Linked DNA regions of Homo sapiens: regions 2, 3, 4 and 5 are each linked to region 1. Evidence: promoter capture Hi-C in human tissues and cell types (Jung and others, 2019). All regions are on one chromosome and are shown on one strand. The core of a region is centred on a gene start or on the middle of the fragment in contact, and the rest is flanking DNA. Distances in the headings are between cores, read along the strand shown.

What was found. The method cuts DNA at HindIII sites, captures the fragments that hold promoters and counts their contacts. A contact is called where the count stands out against the background at its distance.
Region 2: a contact is called between the fragment with the promoter of BBC3 here and the fragment with the promoter of SLC8A2 in region 1, in 2 of the 25 tissues and cell types used here (dorsolateral prefrontal cortex and spleen).
Region 3: a fragment that was not itself captured here is called in contact with the fragment with the promoter of SLC8A2 in region 1 in 18 of the 25 tissues and cell types used here (H1 embryonic stem cells, IMR-90 fibroblasts, aorta and 15 more).
Region 4: a contact is called between a fragment that was not itself captured here and the fragment with the promoter of SLC8A2 in region 1, in 12 of the 25 tissues and cell types used here (IMR-90 fibroblasts, aorta, dorsolateral prefrontal cortex and 9 more).
Region 5: a contact is called between a fragment that was not itself captured here and the fragment with the promoter of SLC8A2 in region 1, in 8 of the 25 tissues and cell types used here (H1 embryonic stem cells, IMR-90 fibroblasts, bladder and 5 more).

The regions. Positions count from the first base shown.
Region 1 is chr19:47,469,238-47,474,141 of GRCh38, reverse strand. SLC8A2 (solute carrier family 8 member A2) reads left to right here and starts at 2,249. Exons shown (of 10, transcript NM_015063.3): 1 at 2,249-2,353. RefSeq lists a silencer at 4,476-4,770. The HindIII fragment of the contact is 16,110 bases long and covers 1-4,904 here.
Region 2 is chr19:47,229,172-47,234,075 of GRCh38, reverse strand. BBC3 (BCL2 binding component 3) reads left to right here and starts at 2,877. Exons shown (of 4, transcript NM_014417.5): 1 at 2,877-3,147. RefSeq lists enhancers at 1,341-1,610, 1,037-1,660, 2,370-2,489 and silencers at 2,630-2,859, 3,000-3,719. The HindIII fragment of the contact is 48,720 bases long and covers 1-4,904 here.
Region 3 is chr19:47,688,638-47,693,541 of GRCh38, reverse strand. The region is part of intron 7 of BICRA (BRD4 interacting chromatin remodeling complex associated protein); the gene reads right to left. Among named protein-coding and RNA genes, the nearest start is that of EHD2, 22 kb to the left of the region's middle. RefSeq lists an enhancer at 1-474. The HindIII fragment of the contact is 9,551 bases long and covers 1-4,904 here.
Region 4 is chr19:47,670,138-47,675,041 of GRCh38, reverse strand. BICRA (BRD4 interacting chromatin remodeling complex associated protein) reads right to left here. Exons shown (of 15, transcript NM_001394372.1): 2 at 4,498-4,599; 3 at 1,427-1,472; 4 at 1,280-1,322. The coding sequence starts at 1,467. Among named protein-coding and RNA genes, the nearest start is that of EHD2, 41 kb to the left of the region's middle. The HindIII fragment of the contact is 5,493 bases long and covers 1-4,618 here.
Region 5 is chr19:47,627,499-47,632,402 of GRCh38, reverse strand. The region is part of intron 1 of BICRA (BRD4 interacting chromatin remodeling complex associated protein); the gene reads right to left. Among named protein-coding and RNA genes, the nearest start is that of BICRA, 21 kb to the right of the region's middle. The HindIII fragment of the contact is 9,138 bases long and covers 1-4,904 here.

The sequences.
Region 1 (4,904 bases), core at 1,000-3,499:
GCCCGGCCTCCTGTGCTCCGTTCTGTATTACCAGGAGAAGGAATCAGAGGCCTGTGTCTCTAGGATCAGTGGAGGGTGGGAACGATGGAAGTCTTGTCCTCCGTCCACTGCAGGCCAGGAATAGAATCTGGGTCAGCAGGGTTGGGGGATGATCATTCCCTGGGCCGTATCCAGGCTGGGGGCAGGGGTTGGGCAGGACATCTGCTTCCTGGGGGTTCAGGGGAGAGGCAGACACCGTAGTCATTTTGGCCATCTGTCTACCTCCCGCTATGGAGGTCCACTCAGAAGTCTGACCACCAGCACTGACAGGGAAGACCCAGCCACCAGTTCTCTACCGAGCGTTTATGGGAGTTAGGAGCTCAGCAACTCCTGGCCACCCCTGTCTTCACCCTCTTTCCCAGAAGCCAGGCCCAGGCGTGGGAAGTTGGAGGAAGCCGGATCCTCTCCCTCCCCTGGCCAGCAGGCCTGACGGTGTCCAGCCAGGACTGGCAGTGGGCAGGACCGGTGGCACGAGCAAGGCCCCCTCCCTCCCACTGTCCGCCTCTAGAGAAGGAGCACTCCACACCGACTAACACGCCATCACCCCCTGTTGTGGGGGGGAGCAGGATTGGGGGTGGGTGTAGTGCTGGTGTGCCTTGCAGAGGTGTGTGCTTGCGTGGGGGTATGTGTGTGGGCCCATCGCAGGGTGCATGAGTTTGTGTCTTCAGGAGCCCAGGCCACCTGCCTGGCCCTTTGCAGTTCATTTCTTTCTTTTTTTTTTTTTTTTTTGGAGATGGAGTCTCACTCTGTCACCCAGGCTAGAGTGCGGTGGCATGATCTCAGCTCACTGCAGCCTCCACCTCCCAGGTTCAAGCGATTTCTCCTGCCTCAGCCTCCCAAGTAGCTGGGATTACAGGCGTGTGCCACCTGGCCTGGCTAATTTTTGTATTTTTAGAAGAGACAGGGTTTCGCCATGTTGGCCAGGCTGGTCTCCAACTCCTGACGTCAAGTGATCTGCTCGCCTCAGCCTCCTAAAGTGCTGGGATTACAGGCGTGAGCCACCGCACCCAGCCTGCAAGTCTCTTCTTGACCTGACCCGTCCTCAGCCTGGGGAATTGTGCGGTGCAGCAGTTAAGGGTGTAGAATCTGGAGCCATATTTACCACCTCATGCCTTGGTTTCCCTGTCTGTAAGTGAAGCTCATAATAGCATTTACCTAAATTTATAAAAAACATTAGAACATGCCAGGTGCGGTGGCTCTCACCTGTGCGGTGGCTCTCACCTGTAATCTCAGCGCTTTGGGAGGCCGAGGCAGAAGGATTGCTTAAGCCCGGGAGTTGGAGACTAGCCTAGGTAAAATAGTGAGACCCCGTCTCTTAAAAAAAATGAAGAGAAAAAAAGCCTGGCGTGGTGGTGGTGGGCACCTGTAGTCCCAGCTACTCGGGAGGCCAAGGCAGAAGGATCGCTTGAGCCCAGGAGTTGGAGACCAGCCTGGGTAACATGGTGAGATCCCATCTCCTAAAAAAAAAAAATGGAGGGAAAAAGCCTGGCGTGGTGGTGGCGGGCACCTGTAGTCCCAGCTACTCAGGAGGCTGAGGCAGGAGGATTGCTTGAGCCCAGGAGGTTGAGGCTGCAGTAAGCCAAGATCGTGCCACTGCACTCCAGCCTGGGTGACAGAGTGAGACCCTGTCTCAAATAATAATAATGTGCTGCCGATGCCAGGCACGTGGTCAGGGCTGCCTGTATGTATGGCAGCTGTTGTTATTCTTATTAATGGGTGTCTTTGTGGTTGTTTCTGGCCTCCTTTGTGAGGCTGTGCAGGCACAGTATGTGAATTTGGATCTGACTCCAGCTAAACATTCTTGCCCTCCCCCTAGTTCTGTAAGTCTGTAACTATTTGTAGCTGTTGGCCCTTGTATGGCTGGGAGACTGCGTGCGTGTGTGTGTGTGCGTGTGTGTGTGTGTGTGTTGGGGGGCGGGGGCTGCTTCTGAAACACACAGGAGCGCCCTCCGGTGCTGTCCCCTGCCTCTGGTGCTGAACCCGGAGGCTGGGGAGGAGGCTCGGGCTCCCTGCTCCCCCAGGCCCCTCCCCGGGCCTCCCCCCGCCTCCCGCACCGCCTTCCCTCTGCCCGCCTCCGCCTCCTCCCCCTCTCTCCGGCTCCTCCCCCTCCCTCGCTCCCTCGCCGCCTCCCCCTCCCCCGTGTCCCTCCCCTCTCCTCTTCTCCTCCCTCTATCCCCTCTCCCTCCCCTCCTCCCCGGCTCTCCCTCTCAGTCTCAGGCTTTTCTCTCTCTCAATCTCTCTCTCTCTTTCGGGCGGAGTCGCCCACCACTGCCAGCCCAGCGCTGGGGGGACCTGCTCCAGGCTGTAGCCGCAGGTAAGAGACCCCATTGGTGGGGAGGTGGGGGCGTGGGAAAAGGACGGGGTTACCCCAGGTGCGGAGTGGGGGCGGTTCGGGAAGCCTGGAGCTGGCTTCCCTGGGCTGGTTTATGGAGGTGGGGGGCTGCCTGGCCCAGCACGCGTACCTTCTGTGGGGTGGGAGTGCCACCAGCCGCCCCAACACCTTCAGTCCCTCCTGGTTCTCGGGCGGCTGGGGAGGGGGACCGCCTGGGTACTGGGGGGCGAGGACACCCCGCCCCCACCCCGTCTGGGGCACCCCCCCTCGCGCTCTCTACCTCTGCCCCCGCCTTCCTGTGTCTGGGTCTCATCTTTCTGTCTCTCCACATGTCTCAGGGGTCTCTGTCTAGCAGAGTCTGGCCGCCTCTGGGAGTCCCTGTCTCTCAGTCTCTCACTCCTGTCTCCCTCTCTCTGTGTCTCTGTGCCGGGGTCTGTTCGGAGTCTCTCTGGGGCTCTGTCTCTAAGTCCTGGGTTTCTCTCTCCTTTCCTCTTGCGCCATCTCTGTTTCTCTGTGTCTCTGTGTCTCTGCCTCTCTCCCTTGTCTCAGCTTTCCTGTGTCTCTCTCTGTCTCTGCTTTCTCTGTGTCTCTGTCTCTTCCCATGTCCGCATGTCTCTCTCTCTCTCTCTCTCTCTCCCTCCCTCCCCATCTCCCCCTCGTCTCCATCTCTGTCTCTGGATATCTCAGTCTCTGTTTCTCTCTCTCTTTCCTCTTCTCTGGCTCTCCCTGGGAGCCAGTGCACCCTCCTCCCACACACCTTTGTCTCCGCCCCTGGCAGGGGGGACCTGGAGGAATTAGACCCCCCCACCCGCAGAGTGGGCTCCCCCAGGCCTGGAGTCCTCTAAACTCCTCTCCCCACTTCAGCAGAGCTCCCCTGCTCTCTCCACTCCTCCCAGCCGGCACCCACCCCAGCTCTCCCCTGAGGACCGAGCCCACCTCCCCCTGCCTTGTTTCTGGCGTTCTGAGGCCGGTCCTTCTTGCAGTTTAACCGGTAGCCTCTGTAGTAGAGATGAGACCAGACCTCCCTTCAATCTAACCTCCCCAGTCTTCCTCGTGTAACTGGACCAGTCCTTCCTGCCGTCTCACTTCCATACCTCTTGCTGTTTGTCCAGCTCTTGATTCATTCATTCTTGTTGATAATTACTGAGCGCCTTTCCTGCTCTGGGCAAGCACTAGGTACTGAGTTAGACCGGGCCAGTCCTTCCTGCAGTCTCACTTCCATCCCTTTCCTGGTGTGCCAGCCTCACACTGTCTCAGTGGGGGGTGCTGAGAGGGCCCTGGCCAACACACTGTCTGCCTTCCTTGAGAGAAGGGGGCCCTGGAGAAGGTGGGCAAGAGAGTGAGTGATGGCGAAAAGGTACGAGGCTGTGCCTGTAGCCCTGGTGTGTGTGTGTGTGTGTGTGTGTGTGTGTGTGTGTGTGTATGATGTCTCCCTGGCTGCAGGTGAGGTCCCAGCCCTGTGTGACAGTGCCCACGGAGGGGGCTTCAGATGGCTTTAAAGAGCACTAGGTTAAGAGCCCTGTTCCTCCTCTGGGCCTCAGTTTACGTATTATCAGTGTATCACAGCCTCGAGCACCCAAGCTCTGTGGTGTGATCCCCACACTGGACCATTTTGAGGTGATGGGAGCGCCTGCGCTCATGCTGGGGCAGTAAATGTGCATGTTTAGAAGTCTGAGTCCCCAGCTCGGTCCTGCAAGGGCCAGCCCCCCAACACAGGCACAGTCAGAAAAGCACCCTCCCTTGCCGCCCCACTGTGGGGTGGTAGCGTGAGGGATATGAAGGACGGGTCTTACCTGGCACGCCAGACTGCACCCACCCCCAGGCATGCAGTCCTGTTCTTCTGATCAAGGACCTAAGAGGCACGTGAGGCAGAACAGGGGTGCTCACTGCCGACCCAGCTGGCCGCACGCCCACGAAGGGAGGGAGAGATGGCCCTGGGAGACGGTACCTGCCATCTGCCCTCCCCGCTCCCACCCTGGGCTCCACCTGATCCTTTTGCCCCTGGATTCTAAAAGCAGATTGGGTTTCAGGGCTGCTGGTGGATGGAGAGGGAGAGGCAGGAGCCAGGAGCAGAGGGAGCCCACGGTCCCTGGTGACAGGGCTCAGACCTCTTGGTCATTCATTTCACAAATATTTATCTAGTGCTTTCTCTCCCTGACTGCTCCTCTCGCAAGGCCCCAGCGAGAAACCAGGTTTTGCAGGAAAAAGGGATTGCACTAGGCTGTGCTTGACCCAGCCCCTGGGCTAGGAGGGTGGACATGAGAACCCGCATCACCTGGCTGTGGTCTCTCTTGAGGACTGCAGCAGGAAGGACAGGTGGTTAAACCTGAGGGAGGACTTCCCAGGCCGAGGCTTCCTCCCAGAGAGAGCGGGGTTTGGTTTGATGCTTTAGAAGAATTCCTGACTCCCGGCTGGCCCCTGTTTCTCCTGAAAGCCAGGGAGGCGGAGGGAGAAGGGAGCATGAGCCTTTGCTTTGGATCCTGGTGGGTTTGTAATTATGCCTAAGTTGTTGCTAATTAGGGGGCTGCTAATT
Region 2 (4,904 bases), core at 1,628-4,127, 240 kb after region 1:
AGAGTGAATATTCTTGTGTCTAAATACATCTCAGTAAAGCGCAAGTTGGTTGGGATGTGAATGCATCTTACTGAGTAAAATGCATTAAGTCAGCCGGGCATGGTGGTTCACACCTGTAATCCCAGCACTGAGGGAGGCGGAGGCAGGAGGTTTGCTTGAGCCCATAAGGTCAAGACCAGACTGGGCAACATAGCGAGACCGCCCATCTCTACAAAAAAATAAAAATTAGCTGGGCGTGGTGGTTTACACCTGTAGTCCCAGTTACTTGGGAGGCTGAGGCAGGAGGATCTCTGGAGCCCAGGAGTTTGAAGCTGCAAGGCTATTGTACCACAAGGCTATCCATTGTGCCACTACACTCCAATCTGGGCGACAGAGTGAATCTTTTATCTAAAAAAAAAAAAGGCTGGGCCAGGTGCAGTGGCTCACGCCATAATCCCAGCACTTTGGGAGGCCGAGGAGGGCAGATCACGAGGTCAGGAGATCGAGACCATCCTGGCTAACATGGTGAAACACTGTCTCTACTAAAAAATACAAAAAATTAGCCGGGTGTGGTGGCAGACGCCTGTACTCCCTGCTACTGGGGAGGCTGAGGCAGAAAGGCCTGAACCTGGGAGGCGGAGCTTGCAGTTTGCTGAGATCGTGCCACTGCACTCCAGTCTGGGCAACAGAGTGACATTCCGTCTCAAAAAAAAAAAAAAAAAAAAGCTGAGTGCAGTGGCTCACACCTGTAATCCCAGCACTTTGGGAGGCCAAGACAGGCGGATCCCGAGGTCAGGAGTTTGAGACCAGCCTGGCCAATATGGTGAAACCGCATCTCTACCAATAATACAAAAATTAGCTGGGCATAGTGGCGCACACCTGTAGTCCCAGCTACTAGGGAGGCTGAGGCAGAAGACTTGCTTGAACCCAGGAGGCGGAGGTGGCAATGAGCCGAGATCATGCCACTGAACTCCAGCCTGGGCGACAGCGCGAGACTCTGTCTCAAAAAAAAAAAAAAAAGTAAGATCCATGTAAGTGATGTCATATGTCATAATCCATGGTTTACTCATGACCCACAGTTTGGAAAACACCAGGAAGAAGGAAGGGACAATGAATAATCGGGGAAAGCGAAAGAGGAGGGAAAGTGAAAGAGGGAGGAAAGCTGAGGAGTTCCCAATGTTGCAAATGGGGAGATTTCACGTGAGATATAGATTACCTGCATCTCTTGGGGGAGCTAAGAGTGTGTACTTGGAGGCAGTCAAGTTTGAGAAGTCTGACATCCTTACTCAGCCAGCCCCACACTAGGCACTGGAAGGTGAGTCACTCTGGTGAGGCGATTGCGATTGGGTGAGACCCAGTAAGGATGGAAAGTGTAGAGGAGACAGGAATCCACGGCTTTGGAAAAAGGAAGGACAAAACTCACCAAACCAGAGCAGGGCAGGAAGTAACAATGAGAAACTGAAAAAGAAACGGAATGGAAAGCTATGAGACAGGATGAAATTTGGCATGGGGTCTGCCCAGGCATGTCCATGCCAGGTGCCCAGGGCTGCTTCCACGACGTGGGTCCCCTGCCAGATTTGTGGTGAGTGTGGCCAGGTGTGCATGCTCCGACGTGTGTGCAGTGGGCCAGTTAGCAAGAAGCTGTCACAGGTGTGACTTTGTGACATGTGTGGGTGGTCAGTTTCTTCTATGTCTGATTTGGTTTGTGTCTCTGAATGTCAGTTTCTTTCCTTTATTTTTATTTTTAAGACGGAGTTTGCTCTTGTTGCCCAGGCTAGAGTGCAATGGCACTATCTCGGCTCACTGCAACCTCCGCCTCCCGGGTTCAAGCAGTTCTCCTGCCTCAGCCTCCCAAGTAGCTGGGATTACAGGCATGCGCCACAACGCCCGGCTAATTTTGTATTTTTAGTAGAGATGGGGTTTCATCATGTTGGTCAGGCTGGTCTCGAATTCCTGACCTCAGGCAGTCCACGCACCTTGGCCTCCCAAAGTGCTGGGATTACAGGCATGAGCCACCGTGTCGGGCGAATGTCACTTTCTGATAGTTTTAATGTGTTAGCTGTGAAATTGTGTGAGTGCATTTGTGTATGTCCCTGTGGGAGTGTGATTTGGATTTGGCCGTGTATCCAGGTATCCCTGTAACAGGTGTCTGTGTGTATGTGTGTGTCCCCTGTGCCTATCAGCAAGTTTGTGTTTCCTGATAAGCACTCCGCCTATGTCTGTGTGGTTGCACCACCGTGTGTGTGGTGTGGGTGCCTGTTCGGTAGGGTTGTTTGTGAACACAGTTTGTGGGCCCAGGTGTGATCATCAGTGTGGGTGTTTCTGCAACTGTGTGTGGCCCTGTCATTGTGTCCGTCTGCTTGTCCAGGGGACCCTGTTAGTGAGTCTGTGCATTTCCGTCTGGGTGTGTGTAAGTGTGAGCCCCATCAGTATGTGAGTGTGTGTGCTCATGCCCCTGTCCATGGTGTGGATTTGCGAGACTGTGGCCTTGTGTCTGTGAGTACATCCTCTGGGCTCTGCCTGCACGTGACTTTGTGGACCCTGGAACGCCCGTCGGTCGGTCTGTGTACGCATCGCTGGGGGTGTGGATCTGTGGGTCCCAGTCAGTGTGTGTGTCCGACTGTCCCGGTGTCTGGGCGATCTCCCCACACCCCGCCGCACAGCGCCTGGGTCCTCCTTGCCTTGGGCTAGGCCCTGCCCCGTCCCCCGCTGCAGGGAAACCCCCGGCGCGGAGGTAGGGGGGGGCGCGGCGCGCGCCTGCAAGTCCTGACTTGTCCGCGGCGGGCGGGCGGGGCCGTAGCGTCACGCGGGGGCGGGGCGTGGGACCCGCCGGGCGGGGGCGGGGCGGGGCGGGGCGGGGCGGCTTTGGAGCGGGCCCGGGATCCGCCGGGCGGCCTGAGACGCGGCGCGAGCCACATGCGAGCGGGCGCCTGGCGGCGGCGGCGGCGGCACCAGCGATCCCAGCAGCGGCCACGACGCGGACGCGCCTGCGGCCCGGGGAGCAGCAGCAGCCACAGCCACAGCAGCCGCCACTGCAGTTAGAGCGGCAGCAGCAGCGACAGCCACAGCAGCAGCCGCCGCGGAGAGCGGCGCTCGGCGGGCGCGCCCTCCTGAAGGAAGCCGCCCGCCCCCCACCGCCGCCCCCTCCGGCGTGTTCATGCCCCCGGGGTGAGTGTGCGCGCCCCGAATCCTCTCCGGCGGCGATCGGCCAGGCCGGGTGGACTCCCTGGAGGAGGTGACAGGAGTGCAGGCGGAGAGCAGTGTGGGCGCCCTGCCTCCCCACACCGCGCCTCTCCAAACCCCGCGAGGGACCCTGGGCCAGGGTCGCCGGGTGAGAGGCGGCTCGGCGTTGGGGCGCCGGTCTGGGCGCACAGGTGCCTCGGCGGTCTGGCGGGTTTGTTTACAAACAATGGGGTGCGGGCTCGGCAGCGCCCCCTGGCGGCCAGTGCGGCCCCGGGGAAGAGGGTCGACCCCAGGGGTGCCCCAGCCCCCAAAGTCCGGGAGGGGCGGGGGGGCGGCACGGAGGGGCGGCCACACCCAGGGCGCGCGCCCGCTGGGGGCGGCGACGGGGGGCGGCTCGCGGGCCGTGGAGTCTGCGGCTCCTGCGGGCGGGGGCTGCGCCCCAGCAACAGCCGGTTATTGGCCCCGCGCTCGCCTGGCGGGCGGGGCGGGCGCACGTGGCGGCGGTGGGGGGGGCTGTGACAGCGGAGGGGGGTGTCTGGGACCGCCGTGGGAGCGCGCGTGTGCGGGGTTGTGGATCTGCAGGTGTCTCGCCTGGGTGTGTGCGCGTGTCTGGCTCCGAGTTTGTGCTGGGTTCTGCAGGGAGTGGTGGTGTCGATCCAGAGGAATGTTGGGGTTTCTGACCCGTCGGGGTGTCTGCGTGAGTCCCCGCGCCTGTTTGTGTGGGGTTCTGTCTGTGGGTGCCCTGCTTGTGGGGTGGGTGGACCTGCGTGTGTTGTCGGTGAGAGTTGTCTGTGTGTGCTGTTCCGGGATGATACTGGGGGTCTGTGGTGCCTGCGTGTGCTGGGGTGTGGAGGTTGTAGTGTGTGTGTGTTGCTGGAGTGAGCTGTTTGTGTGTTTATGTGTGTGTCTTGCCCGAGCGTGCGATATGTGTGCTTGTGTCTTGCCTGTGTGTTTCTGTCTTGGCTGAGGCCGTCTCTGTATCTCCGGGGCATGTGTCTTTTGCCCAGCGTTTGTGATGCTGCGCCTGCTAAATGCAAATGTCTGTTTTCTGTCCAGGTGTCTGTGTGAGTTGTCAGGTGTGAGTGTGTGTGTGTATGTATGTGTGTGGTGGGGGGTTGTTTCAGTCTGGGTTTGGCTTGTGTGTCTGGCATCAGCGTCTGGGATTTGAGGACCCAGGATCTGTGGGGTCTATGCAGTGTAGACGGTGGGTGTTGCTGGCAGCCTCTGGATGGGGTTGTGTCTGAGCCTGTGTGTGTGTGTGTGTGTTGGGTCTGAGGGGCTTGTCACTGTGATCGGCTGGCTCATGTGTGTCATGTGGGCTGCGTGTGTGTAGTGTTTATGTCAGTCACGTGAGACCAGTGTTTTCTGTGGGTGCGCTAGGTGTGTGTGCTGCTGGGCTGTGTGGGATTAGAGTTAGCTGTAGGGTGTGTGTGTGTGTGTGTTGCTGACAGTTGGTGATGATGTTTGAGGGTTGCGTGAGGAGGGTGGGTTGGTGTCTGGTGGTGTGTTGAGGTCTGATGGCATGTGTCTGTGTGTGCCTGATCTACGTGTGTCCTGAGAGTTGGTGACATGTGGGTGTGTTTTGGGGGTGTTGATGTATGTGTGTCCGTGGGTGTCTGTTTTGTGTTGATATGTGAGTCCAGAGGTGTGCAGGTCTTATCTCTGGAGTGAGTGTGTGTGTGTGGAGAGGGGCATGTTTGGGAACTGAGGCAGTGCCTAGCTTGTGTGTGTGTGTTTGTGTT
Region 3 (4,904 bases), core at 901-3,400, 220 kb before region 1:
GATGGCCACACAGGGACAGGCCTGGGTTCACAGCCACGTGTGGACCTCTGGATGCGGGCATGGGAAGGCCTGGACCCCCTTCTAAGTGTCCTGGGCACCTGCCTCTGTGTGCCTGTGTGTCCATGGCTGCAGGCCTACCTGGGCGCCACGTGAGCTTGCAGGTACAAGCGTGCATGCGTGTGCACGACGTACCAGACTCTGATGAAGCCTGTGTCTGCAAGCACACGCGATCTGGTGCTAGTTCTGTCACACGCACACAGCCACCTCGCCTAAAGCATGTCTCAGACGGAGCACCTTGCCGTTCTGGACCCTCCTCCCAAAGAATCATAACCAGAGCAGCCACTGTGTAACCAGTGGGCACCAGCTGTGCACCCAACACTGGGCTGGCACCGTGATACTTGCTGTCACAGAATCTGCATCCTAGTAACAGCTCATGCTGATCTAACACGAATGGCCGGCCTCCCGCATCCATTTGTGTGATCTCTCCCTAGCCCTGAGGGCAGTGGTAACACTGGACCCATTTCACAGATAAGAAACTGAGGCCAAGGCTCCAAAACTGGTCCAGACTCTCCAGGCTGGTGAAGGCGGAACTGAGGCCTTTACACTGCTCAGTGACTTCTGAGCCATTTCTCAAAGCTGACTGAGTTCAGGCTCAGAGGGCTCAGGATATCTGCCCGAGGACAGCCAGCACCACCACACTCCAGAACCGGGCATCTCGGCATGACATCAGATTCACCACCAGCTTTGGCCTCTAAGTCCCAGGGCCCTTCCAGCATCCCTTCCAAGCTGGGCCCTGAGTAACTTCTGACAGTTAAAGAACCAAACCAAACCAATCAATCAATCAGTCTTCAAAAGGTTTGCCACCTCTAAGAAGAGATGAGAGGCGCAGTCCTTGGCGCTGTGTACGGCTGGTGGGACTGCCTCCTGGAAGGCAGCTTGGTCTGGGGACTTTGAAAGGGTCACAACTTTGACCTGGAAATTCCCCTCCAGGAATCTGTGATGAAGAATATTCGGCCGGGCACGGTGGCTCACGCCTGTAATCCCAGCACTTTGGGAGGCTGAGGCGGGCAGATAACCAGAGGTCAGGAGTTCGAGACCAGCCTGATCAATATGATGAAACCCTGTCTCTACTAAAAATACAAAAATAATTAGCCGGGCATGGTGGCATGCACCTGTAATCCCAGTTACTCAGGAGACTGAGGCTGGAGAATTGCTTGAACCCAGGAGGCGGAGGTTGTAGTGAAATGAGATCGCGCCACTGCACTCCAGCCTGGGCACAAGAGTGAAACTCCGTCTCAAAAAAAAAAAAGAATATTCAAGTACTTGCTATGGGGTTGCCCACTTTGGGAGCATTTACAATAGAGGAAAAGGAGAAATGACTCAAATGGCCAATGGCAGGTGCGTCGCTGAGTCGGAGAAAAGAGAACTGGCCCACTCAGTAGGTTCCAAGGGCTCAGGGAGGTGGCCCACATGCAGCGGCACTCCAATGCTACATGAAATAGGAGAATAATACAACATTACAGGATCCCTGGGCACCTGGTAAAGTTGGATTATGGACAGAGGATATGACAACAGTATCATGTCAATGCTGTCTGCTTTATTTCTTTGCAGTATGATGGTTAAGTAAGAGAATGTCCTTGTTCTCCAAGGCTGAAATATTATACTAAAATATTAAGGGGTAGGCTGGCCGCGGTGGCTCACGCTTGCAATCCCAGCACTTTGGGAGGCCAAGGCAGGTGGATCACTTGAGCCCAGGAGTTTGAGACCAGCCTAGTCAACATGGTGAAACCCCATCTGTACTAAAAACACAAAAATTAGCAGGGTGCGATGTGTGCCTGTAATCCCGGCCACTCAGGAGGCTGAGGCAAGAGAATTGCTTGAACCTGGGAGGCAGAGGCTACAGTGAGCCAAGATTGTACCACTGCACTCCAGACTAGGCGACAGAGTGAGACTCAGACTCAAAAATAAATAAATACATAAATAAATAAAATAAAATATTAAGGGGCAAACGGGTATAATGGTTGCAACTTACTCTCAACTGATTCAGAAAAAAGTGTACACAGAATGAGAATGCTAAGGTCAAGGCAGATGTAGCAAAAGGCTGACAATGGGTAGACGTGGGAGGCAGCCACCAACAATCCTCACCTCCTTGTGTTCAGTCCCCTCCCATATGCTGGTCTTTGTGGCCAATAGAATTTGGCAGAAGTGATTATATGACACTTCCAAGATTAGTTATAAAAAGCCTGCGGCTCCCATCCTGAGCATTCTGTCTGTTTCTATTGGGTCACTCACTTTGCGGGAAGCCAACCGCTGTGTGTCATGTGCTGCCCTTTGGAGAGGCCCACTGAGGAAGCAATTGAGGCCTCCTGCTAATAGCCACACAAGTGAGCGTGGGAGCAGGTTCTCCAGATCAGTGGGACCTTCAGATGACCACAACTTCATGGGAGATCCAGAGCTAGAACCTCCTAGCTAAGCTGCTTTCAGATTCCTAATGTTTAGAAACAGTGTGAGACACGTGAATACTTGCTGTTTGAAGCTGCTAAGTTTTGAGGGTAATTTCCTGCATAGCAATAGATAACTAATACATCTAGTTGAGGAGTAAAGAACTCCTATGAGCTCTCTGTACTAATTCTGAAACTTTTTATGTGTTTGAAGTCATTTAAACATAAAAAGCTTAAAGATACCAAAAAATTAAAAAAATTTAATTTCATTCTCATCAAAAGTGCGCACACACACACACACACACACAATCCACAAATTAAGTCACATGCCAAATGACTTACTGGGGAAAACAGTTGCAACTCCAAATACAAAGTTCATCTCTCTCATATATAGAGAGACTCTAGAAATCACTAAGAATTACAACTGGTGAAAAAGGGGCAAAGGATATGATCAGACAGTGCACAGAAAAGGAAAGACAAAAGGCTTAAGTATTTTCAGAGCTACTCAACCTCACTTGTAATAAGAGAAATGCACAGCAAAACGCACCCCAGGGCACTATTTTTCACCCTAGGGTACCATTTACCACCCGTCGCATTAGGAATAAAGCCTATGTCTAGTAAAGATGCTTGTATATACTGCCCTTAGGGGTCTCAACTGGCACAATTTGCTACAACTCAAGAGGAACGCAATTCAGCAGTAGCTATCCAAGTTATAAATGCACATTTGCTTTAGTCCAGCAAACAGGCTTCCAGGAAGTAAACAGACCTGCATATGTGGGAAATAACAGGTGAACAAGTAGGCCGGGCGCGGTGGCTCACACCTGTAATCCCAGCACTTTGGGAGGCTGAGGCGGGTGGATCACCTGAGGTCAGGAGTTTGAGACCAGCCTGGCCAACATGGTGAAACCCCGTCTCTATTAAAAATACAAAAATTAGCTGGGCATGGTGGCGTGCACCTGTAATCCCAGCTACTAGGGAGGCTGAGTCAGGAGAATTGCTTGAACCTGGGAGGCGGAGGTTGCAGTGAGCCAGTATCACGCCATTGCACTCCAGCCTGGGCAAAAAGAGCGAAACTCTGTCTCAAAAACAAAAACAAAAACAAAACAGGTGAACAAGTTGTTTCCTGCAGCTTCGTGTAGAACGCCAAAATCTGGATATGGTCTAAAGTGCATCAATATGGCATTTCCTGGGGAAATGAACTGTGGCTCTTCTGTACAAAGGAATACTTCAAGACTCTAACAGAAAACAAGCAAACTCACTGTTGCTGCCACAGTAAGTACATAATGAGCTCCCCTTTGGGTACAAATGGGAGAGAAACGTAAACCATATTTGCACTAGGTTGTATATACACGAAGAACTGGAAAGGGATACAAAAATTAGGCCAGGTGGCCAGGCGTGGTGGCTCACGCCTATAATAATCCCAGTACTTTGGGAGGCCAGGCAGGCGGATCACCTGAGGTCAGGAGTTCAAGACCAGCCTGGCCAACATGGCGAAACCCTGTCTCTACTAAAAATACAGAAATTAGCAGGGCGGGATGGTGTGCACCTGTAATCCCAGCTACTCCGGAGGCTGAGGCAGGGAGAACTGCTTGAACCCAGCAGGCGTAGCTTGCAGTGAGCCAAGATCTTGCCACTGCACTCCAGCCTGGGCGACAGAGAGAGACTCAGTCTCAGAAAAAATAAATAAAAATAAATTAGGCCAGGCTCAGTGGCTCATGCCTGTAATCCCAGCACTCTCGGAGGCCAAGGCAGGAGGACTGCTTGAGCCCAGGAGTTCAAGACCAGCCTGGGCAACAGAGCAAGACCCTGTCTCTGGAAAAAAAGAAAAAAAAACTTTCTGATGATCATACTATGTGAATAAAATGACTTATTTAAAAAATGTTTTAAATAAAATTGGGGTCGGGGGGTTAAACAGAAACTTCATACCAAAATATTACTTCTTCTACAATATTTGTCTTAGAAAAAACAAAGCTAGGCCTGGCATAGTGGCTCACACCTGTAATCCCAGCACTTTGGGATGCCAAGGCGGGTGGATCACTTGAGGTCAGGAGTCCAAGACCAGCCTGGCCAACATGGTGAAACCTCGTCTCTCTAAAAATACAAAAATTAGCCGGGCTTGCTGGCATGTGCCTGTAAATCCAAGTTACTTGGGAGGCTGAGGCAGAAGAATTGCTCCAATCCCAGAGACAGAGGTTGCCGTGAGCCGAGATCGCGCCACTGCACTCCAGCCCGGGCGAGAGAGAGAGAGAGACTCTGTCTCAAAAACAAAAAATAAAACAAAACAAAGAAAAAAAAATTTTTTTTTTTTGAGACGGAGTCTCGCTCTGTCACCCAGGCTGGAATGCAGTGGCTCAATCTCAGCTCGCTTGCTGCAACCTCCGCCTCCCGGGTTCAAGCAATTCTCCTGCCTCAGCCTCCTGAGTAGCTGGGATTACAGGCACACACCACCATGCCCAGCTAATT
Region 4 (4,904 bases), core at 623-3,122, 200 kb before region 1:
GCCTCCCCCACTGCCTGCACCATGGCCCAGGCTGCCATCATCCCATTGCTCATGCCTCTGCTCTATAAATTATTTGAAACCTCTCCTTTCAAGAGGTGGAGCTCAATTCCCCTCCCTCTGAGTGCTGGCCAGACTGACTGATTAGCTTCTAGTGAATACAGTGTGATGGGAGGAAGGGTGTGGGACTTTGGAGACTGGGTCATTAAGGGCACTGCGGGTTCCTCCTGTGTCCTCTCTCGGATCACTCGTTCTGGGGGAAGCCAGCTGCCATGCTGTGAAGACACTCAAGCAGCACTAAGGAGAGGCCCCCGTGGTGAGGAACTGAGGCCTCCTGCCAACAGCCACAGGAATGAGTCCTGGTGGAAGCACATCTGCCAGCCCCAGTCAAACCTTTGGATGACTGCAGCCCCAGCCTACAGCTTGACTGCAACCTCATGAGAGTCCCTGAGCCTGAACCACCGAGCTAAGCTGCTCCCAGATTCCTGACCTTCAGACACTGCAAGAGCTCTAACAATTGTTGAAGGCACTGCATGCTGGGATAATCTACACAGCCATAGATACTAATACAGCTGCTCAGAGCTCAACAGACTTCTACTTTTCCCCATTTTGTTCCGTTCTCTGGGAAGCAAATCAAATATGGCATTCTCGTGTTTAAGGGCCCATCAGAGCTGCCTGTCACATTCAGAATAAAAATAACAACTCCTCTATCGGGCTTCCAGGCCTACACAACCTGGTGACTTTTACCTACTACAGTCTCACCTCCTACTAGTTTTCCCTTCAGTTTGGCCCCATCAGCCTCCTTCCTGTTCCTCAACCATGCCAAGCTCTCTCCCACCTTTGAACTTGCTCTTCCCTCTGCCAGGAGCACCGGGCCTGGCCACCTACCTCCCTGTGATCCTTCAGGTCTCACCTTCAATGTTACCTCCCTCGTGTGACCCTTTCTGATCACACTATCTAAAGGAGCCCCTGGGACCCATTTATTTTCTTTTAAACCTCTTTCATTGTGCAAATGACATTATTATTTTTTATCATACTCTACATGGTCCTTTTCACCATTACCTTTATTAGTGACTGGTTTCTTTGTTTCCCAAGGAGGTGTCCATGGAAGGAGGACAGGGGATTACCATGAGTTTTGCTCATGGCCGTAACTCCAGTGCCTGGCGTTAGAAGCCACAAGGCAGATGGCTACCTCATCAAAGGGACATGTCTCTCCCTGTCCCTCACTCCCAATTAGACAGCCCCCCACTCAGGGAATGCCTCTCCCTGCGCCCATGCTTACCTTCTCGGATCCATGCAAGAAGTCATTGAGGGCCTGTGGGTCACTGGAAGAGAAGAGGAAGAGACGCTGAGGAGGTAAGGAGCTGGGGAGGGGAGGGAAGGGAGGGGGTTGAGACAGAGGGCAGGGGGTGGGGAGCCCGTTACTCACCAAATCACGTCTAGTAAGCATCTCCCATCCTCATCATCCATCGCCACTGGATGGGGTGGGGTCAGGAAGAGGGCGAGGGAGACAAGGTTAGATTTTGGCAGCTTGCCTGGCCCCCTCCCTTCAGGGGAGCCCCCTGGAGGGGGTCAGAGTTTCTGTTCCCTTGAGTCCATGGGGATAGATGGGGACAAGGAATACCTCCCAGGTGCCCTCCCAGCCAGAAACCCCTGACCAGGGACAGGGTCCTTTTCCTCCCACTCCAACTCTCCCAGCACCTGATGATGATAATGATGATATCAACCAAGACTAAGTGAGTCCTGACCATGCCTCACACACACTAAGCTAATCCTCAGGGTATCCCAGGAGGGGTCCCACGGCCTGTACTTTGCAGATGAGAACTGGAGGCACCGGGAGGGTCATCCTCCGTCTCCCAGCAAGCAGGCAGCAGAGCCAGGCCTGGAACCTAGGAAGCCTGGCTCCTGAGCCCTGCTCTTCACCACCCTGCTGTCCTGCCTCCCCAGACATGAGGCGTGTGGTGGGGGTCTGTCCTACATATAAACGGGTGAAGGAGTGAGGGAGCCAGTGTAGACAAGAAGGGCTTTGTGGCTCAAGGCTCTGGGTGACCCTTGAAGATGTCTGCAATGTGTTCCCAAGGAAGGGGAGGGTGGTGGGGAAACTGAGGCAGAAGCAAGGGAGAGGGGCTCATGAGGAGGGGCGCTCTGAGTCAGAGAAGCCACCGGGGCAAGGCTGAGCCCTATGGTCTGAATGATGAGGATGAGGATGGCTAACATTTGTCGAGTGCTCACTAGGTGCCAGGCACTGTCTGAGCACTTCAGCAATGTTAGCTTGTTCCACCCCCATAGGGAAGGGATCGTTAGTCCCATCTGACACCAGGGGAAGCAGGTGTTCTCTGTATTTATTTACCCATCCACCCTCCCATCCATCTAGCCTTCCCTCCCCTCAAACACCCCTCCAAATATTCCTCCAACCCTCCAAAACATCCCTCCCTTCCCTGCCTCCATCCATCCATCCATCCATCCACTTCTTTATCTTTCCAAACATTTCTCCAAACATCCAACCAGCCCTCAGAAACATTTAACTAGCCAACCCTCCCTCCAAAGCTTCCTCTTTCCTCCCTCTAGCCATCAGTCTCCTCCTCCCTCCATCTTTCCATCCACCTACCTACCCATCCCTCCATCCTTCCACCCATCTACTTACCCATCCTCCATCCTTCCATCCATCTACCTACCCATCCTCCATCCTTCCATCCATCTACCTACCCATCCTCCATCCTTCCATCCATCTACCTACCCATCCTTCATCTATCCATCTACTTACCCATCCCTCCATCCTTCCATCCATCTACCCACCCATCCCTCCATCCTTCCACCCATCTACTTACCCATCCTCCATCCTTCCATCCATCTACCTACCCATCCTCCATCCTTCCATCCATCTACCTACCCATGCTCCATCCTTCCATCCATCTACCTACCCATCCTCCATCCTTCCATCCATCTACCTACCGATCCCTCCATCCATCCACCCATCCCTCCATCCTTCCATCCATCTACCCACCCATCCCTCCATCCTTCCATACATCTACCTACCAATCCCTCCATCTTTCTACCCATCTACCCACCCACCCCTCCATCCTTCCATCCATCTACCCACCCATCCCTCCATCCTTCCACCCATCTACTTACCCATCTCTCCATCCATCTACCTACCCATCCCTCCATCCTTCCACTCATCTACCTACCCATCCCTCCCATCCTTCCATCCATCCACCTATTCATCCCTCCATCCATCTAGCTACCCATCCCTCCATCCTTCCATCTACTTGCCCATCCCTCCATCCTTCCATCCATCTACCTACCCATCCCCTCCATCCTTCTACCCATCTACCCACCCATCCCTCCATCCTTCTACCCGTCTACCTACCCATCCCTCCATCCTTCCATCCATCTACCTACCCATCCCTCTATCCTTCCAAGCTTCCATCCAAACACCCCTCCTTCCCTTCTGCCAAATACCCACACAGACCCATCCTTCCAGCCACTCATCCCTTCATTACTTCCTGCACCCTCTGCTCCCGTCTCCTCCCAATGACACATACAATACACAATGGAAAAGAAGACCTGATCCCTGAATGGTGGGAATTTACAGCTCAGGACCGTGGAGTTCCCTTACCCTCTTTTTTTGTTGGGGTAGGGGGTCCCAAACCTCACTGACGATGTGACAACTGCCACGGGTCACCATTCCCACCCAAAAACCCCACATATAAAATCTTACATGCACCCTCAGCTGGTTCACAGCCCCTCACCCTGACAGCATACTCTGAACTCCCCTAACAGGGGCCTCCTTAGTGCCACCCCCAAGTCCTCCATCCCCAGTGCTCAGTGACATTATGAAGAGCCCTGACCAGGGACCCCCCACAGTGGGCTGGGGCATATTTGCTGAATCAAGTTGTGAAAAATCTAATGACACACGCATGTTTCATGCCAAAACATGCATGTGGGTAAGAAATGTGACACATACTTTTCCAGGGTTCACGGATCACCCTCCCTGCAGCACAGAGACACATGCATCTCCAGAGCCCCACACGCCAATTACTCTACCTCTCAGGGGCTGGCTGTGGGGAGTGTCCCCGGGGAGGTGCCTCCCGGGCTCTCGCTGCCTTAGAAGTGGTGAGGACGTACTCTCACCACCTGCTCCACATCCCAGCCCCACCAGGCTTCCTCCCCCTGTGTCACCAGGTCCATGACCTATGAGCCCCTTCCCTCCCCAACCCGCTCACAGAAGGCATGCAAAGGCATGGTCTGCAAAGAATCTGGAGAAAAGGGGAAAGGGGCAGAGAGAAAGATTTTGCTTGCAGCTAATGCAGAGGCAGGGTGATGGCCCAGATGACCCAGGAGGCCCAGGTGGGAGAAGAAAGAACCAGAGATATTGCTTAGCCAGGCTCTTCCAGGAAGGAATGCTCCTTCCTCATCCAGGGGCCAAGGTGGTGCTGGGGAGGTGGAATGAGGGACGGTTGCCCCTCCAGGAATGAACAGGGATGCTTCGCTGGTTACCTGCGCTACAAACGAATCATGAAGGGAAGGAGGGGCGTGTCCACTCCAGGTCTACACAGGGCCCCCAGCTGGGGACTTGGAAAGGGTCCTCTTGGGGGCCAGCTGTGGAGAAAATGAGAGACAGACAGTGAGTGAGAAAGTCAGCGAAAAGGAAAAAGACGTGGTCAGAGACGGACAGAGCTATGGGATGTAGGTGGGAGAGGGATGGACAAAGGAGGGGGATGGAAGAGAGACGGGAGGCTGAAAAGGCAACATTCAAGGGAAGTTTAAAAAATTTAGAATCACACAAAATGGCTGGCGCGGTGGCTCACGCCTGTAAATTCAGCACTTTGGGAGGCTGAGGCAGGAGTATCACTGGAGCTCAGGAGTTCGAGACCAGCGTGGCTAGGCAACACAGGGAGATCTTG
Region 5 (4,904 bases), core at 1,679-4,178, 160 kb before region 1:
CGAGGACTGAGAATTAGGAAGCAGCCAGCCCCAGGCTGACTCCTGCCAAGGTCCCCAGAGTCCGGCACAGGCCTGGCATGGAACAGCCACTCAAAAGCTCCGGCTGCTGTTTGCCAGCAGTGAAAATGGTGAAGCCTTTCTGGAATGCAACTTGGCGGGGCCACCAAAGTCTAAATGCTCGCTCCCTTTTGCCTCAGCAATTCCTTTTCCAGGAATCTGGCCGGTGGAAACACTCTTGCATAAGCAACCCAAGGTATGGATATAAAAATGTCAGGTCGGGTCACTCCCCAGCTCAAAGCCCTCCCATGGCTCCCATCTCACTCAGATTCAAAGCCAAAGTCCTAGTCAAAGACAGAGAATGGAAACTCTAGAGCAATAAAGAGGTAGCGCTACCAGGCTAAAAGCGGAGATAAAATGGAACACTAAAATATTCCATTTAAAAGAAGCAGGGAAAGGCCGGGCGCAGTAGCTCATGCCTCTAATCCCAGCACTTTGGGAGGGTGAAGCGGGTGGATCACCTGAGGTCACGACTTTGAGACCAGCCTGGCCAATATGGCGAAACCCCGTCTCTACTAAGCATACAAAAATTAGCCAGGCGTGGTAGTGTGCACCTGTAGTCCCAGCTACTTGGGAGGCTGAGTCAGGAGAATTGCTTGAACCCAAGAGGCAGAGGCTGCCATGAGCCGGGATCATACCACTGCCCTCCAGCCATACCAATAATTATAATAAACATAAATCGGCCGAGTGCGGTGGCTCACATCTGTAATCCCGGAACTTTGGGAGGCCAAGGCAAAAAGATCACTTGAGGCCAGGAGTTTGAGACCAACCTGGGCAACATAGTGAGTTCCTGCCTCTACAAAAAATTTTTAAAATTAGGCTGGATGTGGTGGCTCATGCCTATAATCCCAGATCTTTGGGAGGCTGAGGAGGGCAGATCACCTGAGGTCAGGAGTTCGAGACCAGCCTGACCAATATGGTGAAACCCTGTCTTTACTAAAAATACAAAAATTAGCCGGGTGTGGTGGCGTGCGCCTGTAATCCCAGCTACTGAGAAGGCTGAGGCAGGAGCATTGCTTGAACCCAGGAGGCGGAGGTTGCAGTGAGCCAAGATTGCGCCACTGCACTCCAGCCTGGGTGACAGAGTATGACTCAGTCTCAAAAAAATAAAATAAAATAAAAAATTAGCCAGATGGGGTGGTGCACATCTGTAGTCCCAGCTATCAGGAGGCTGAGGTGAAAGAATCGCTTGAACCCAGGAGTTCAACGTTACAGTAAGCCTTGATGACTGCACTCCAGAATGGGCAAAAGAGTCAGACTCTGTCTCAAAAAAAACCCCAAAAACATAAATCAACTAAACTTGTGCTTTCCACTATGAGCAGCTTCACGTGACATTTGAGCACTTGAAATATGTCGAGTCCCAACTGAGATGTGCTGTGAGTGTAAAATACACACCAGATTTTGAAAACTTCGTGTGGGGAAAAAAAATAAAAGACTACAACAAGTGTTGGCAAGGATGTGGAGAAACTGGAACCACGTGCACTGCAGGTGGAAATGTGAAATGATGTAGCCACTGCTCCTCCAAAAGTTAGAACAGATCATTACCATACAACCCAGCAATTCCACTCCTAGATATAAACCCAAACAAACTGAAGGCAAAAAGTCAAACAGATACTTAGAGCCTATGTTCACAGCAACGTCGTTCACAATAGCAAAAAGGGGACATGACCCAAGTGTCCATCGATGGCAGAATAGGTAAACCAAATGTGGTCTATCCATCCAATGGAAGATGAACTTAGCCACAAAAAAAGAAAAGAATTCTGATACATGCTACAACAGGGATGAACCATGAAGACATGTAAAGTGAAATCAACACAAAAGGACAAATACTGGATGATTCCATTTACATGAGGTACCTAGAATTAGCCAATATAGGCCGGGCGCAGTGGCTCACACCTGTAATCCCAGCACTTTGGGAGGCCGAAGCGGGCAGATCACGAGGTCAGGAGATGGAGACCATCCTGGCTAACAAAGTGAAACCCCGTCTCTACTAAAAAAAAAACAAAAAGCAAAAAAAATTAGCCAGGCGTGGTGGCGGACGCCTATAGTCCCAGCTACTCAGAAGGCTGAGGCAGGAGAATGGCGTGAACCCAGGAGGCGGAGCTTGCAGTGAGCCGAGATTGCGCCACTGCACTCCAGCCTAGGCGACAGAGTGAGACTCCATCTCAAAAAAAAAAAAAAAAAAAGAATTGGCCAATATATAGAGAGTAGAATAGAGGTAACGAGGTGCTGAGGGAAGGGAGGATAGAGAGTTACTCTTTAATAGGTACAGAGTTTCTATTTGGAATGATGAAAAGGTTCTGGTAATGGATAATGGTGACAGTTACACAATATTAAAGTACTTAATGCCACTGAATTATACACTTAAAAAGAGCTAAAATGGGTGGCCGGGCGCCGTGGCTCATGCCTGTAATCCCAGCATTTTGAGAAGAGGCCACAGCGGGTGGATCACCTGAGGTCAGGAGTTAGAGACCACGCTGGCCAACATGGCGAAACCCCATCTCTATTAAAAATACAAAAATTAGCTGGGTATGGTGGTGGGTGCCTGTAATCCCAGCTACTCAGGAAGCTGAGGCAGAGGAATCACTTGAACCTGCGAGGCAGGGGTTGCAGTGAGTCGAGATCGCACCACTGTACTCCAGCCTGGGCGACAGAGCGAGACTCCGTCTCAAAAAAAACCACACAAAAAAAATAGATATTTGCACACTCATGTTCAAAGCAGCATTATTCGCAATAGCCAAGAGGAGTAAGCAACTCATGTGTTCATCGACAGATAAATGGATAGGCAAAATGTGGTCTATTCATGCAACGGAATATTATTCAACCTTAAAGAGGAGAGAAATCCTGTCACATGCCACACCACGAATAAGCCTTCAGGACAATACAATAAGTGAAATAAGCCAGTGACAGTATGACAAATACTACAGGAGTCCACTTAAATTTGGCACTTAAAGTCAAATTCATAGAGACAGAAAGTTGAATGGAGGCTACTAGGGACTGGGGATGGGGGGAGTTGTTGAATGCATATAAAGTTTCAGTTGGACGCCGGGTGTGGTGGCTCACGCCTGTAATCCCAGCACTTTGGGAGGCCGAGGCGGGTGGATCATGAGGTCAGGAGATTGAGACTATCCTGGCTAACACGGTGAAACCCCGTCTCTACTAAAAACACAAAAAAAATTAGCCGGGCGTGGTGGTGGGCACCTGTAGTCTCAGCTACTTGGGAGGCTGAGGCAGGAGAATGGTTTGAACCCGGGAAGCGGAGCTTGCAGTGAGCCGAGATTGTGCCACTGCACTCCAGCCTGGGCAACACAGCGAGACTGCATCTCAAAAAAATAAATAAATAAAGTTTCAGTTGGGCAAGATGAAAAAGCTCTGGAGATCTGTTACATAATAAAAGTACATTTAACACTACTGAACTGCACATTTAAAAATGATTAAGGCCAGGTGCGGTGGCTCACACCTGTAATCCCAGTACTTTGGGAGGCCGAGGCAGGAGGATCACTTGAGCCCAGGAGTTTGAGACCAGCCTGGGCAACATGGCAAAACCCTGTGTCTACAAAAAAAAATACAAAAATTAGCTGGGTGTGGTGGCATGTGCCTGTAGCCCCAGCTACTCAGGAGGCTGAGGTGGAAGGATCACCTGAACCCAGGATGTTGAGACTGCAATGAACTATGATCATGCCACTGCACTCCAGCCTGGACAACAGAGAGAGACCATGAGCCCCAAACTCCCCACAGAGGTCACCTTTGGAAAAGGAAAGAAGAGGAGATGGTGCAAAGACTTTCGTCGTGTTATATGACTTTTTTCCATATGTAATGATTAACACAGACCTGGCTGCAAATTGGCAAACCCCAAAGCTAAGAGCTAAGGAATCTTATTTTGACCCTGGCATCCAATGCCTCCCCTCCATTTGCAGAATCCTTGAAAGTAACTCAGAAACACCTGGAAAACCACTGGACACCTTACTACTCAGAGGGCAGGCCCCTGACCACAGCAGCCTCACCTGGGAGTTAAGAAATGCAAAGTGTCTGCACCAGCTGACTCAGAACTCACGTGGTAACAGGATCCCCCAGGAACTGGTGTGCAAGTCTAGAAAACTGTGGATCTGCATCACAGCCCAATGTGTCTGCACCAGCCCATACAGACCGAAGAGGGGTTAGTAATAATAATAGCAACAACAGTCAATAGTAATAGCAACCAGCAATGACAAAGTCCTTGTCATGTTGTCATGTGCCAGTCACTCCACAACATATCATCCCAATTAAACCCCACACCCTGGCCCGGCGCGGTGGCTCACACCTGTAATCCCACCACTTCGAGGAGCTGACATGAGTGGATCACGAGGTCAGGGGTTCGAGACCAGCCTGGCCAACATGAAGAAATCCCGTCTCTACTAAAAATACAGAAATTAGCCAGACATAGTGGCATGCGCCTGTAATCCCAGCTACTTGGGAGGCTGAGGCAGAAGAATCGCTTGAACCCGGGAGGTGGAGGTTGCAGTGAGCCGAGATCGTGCCACTGCACTCCAGCCTGGGCAACAGAGCAAGACTCTGTCTCAAAAAACAAAACAAAACAAAACAAACAAACAAAAAACCCACTCATCCTACTCGGTAGGCATTTTAGGTCTGTGGCCCCCTAATCTGCAATTCCAACCTCCAAAAATCTCTAAAGCCATCCTTTTCTTTTTTCCTGGCTCATTGTGGGGCAAAGTGGAACTGCAATGGCTGTCCTTAGATCTCCCTCTTAGTATCAACAGCAGCAGATATATTTGCTGCAGAAATCTTCGCAGAAGTGCTAGCATATGTGCTGACGGGGAGCTGCCTGCCTTGCTGGGGGGTCCCACATC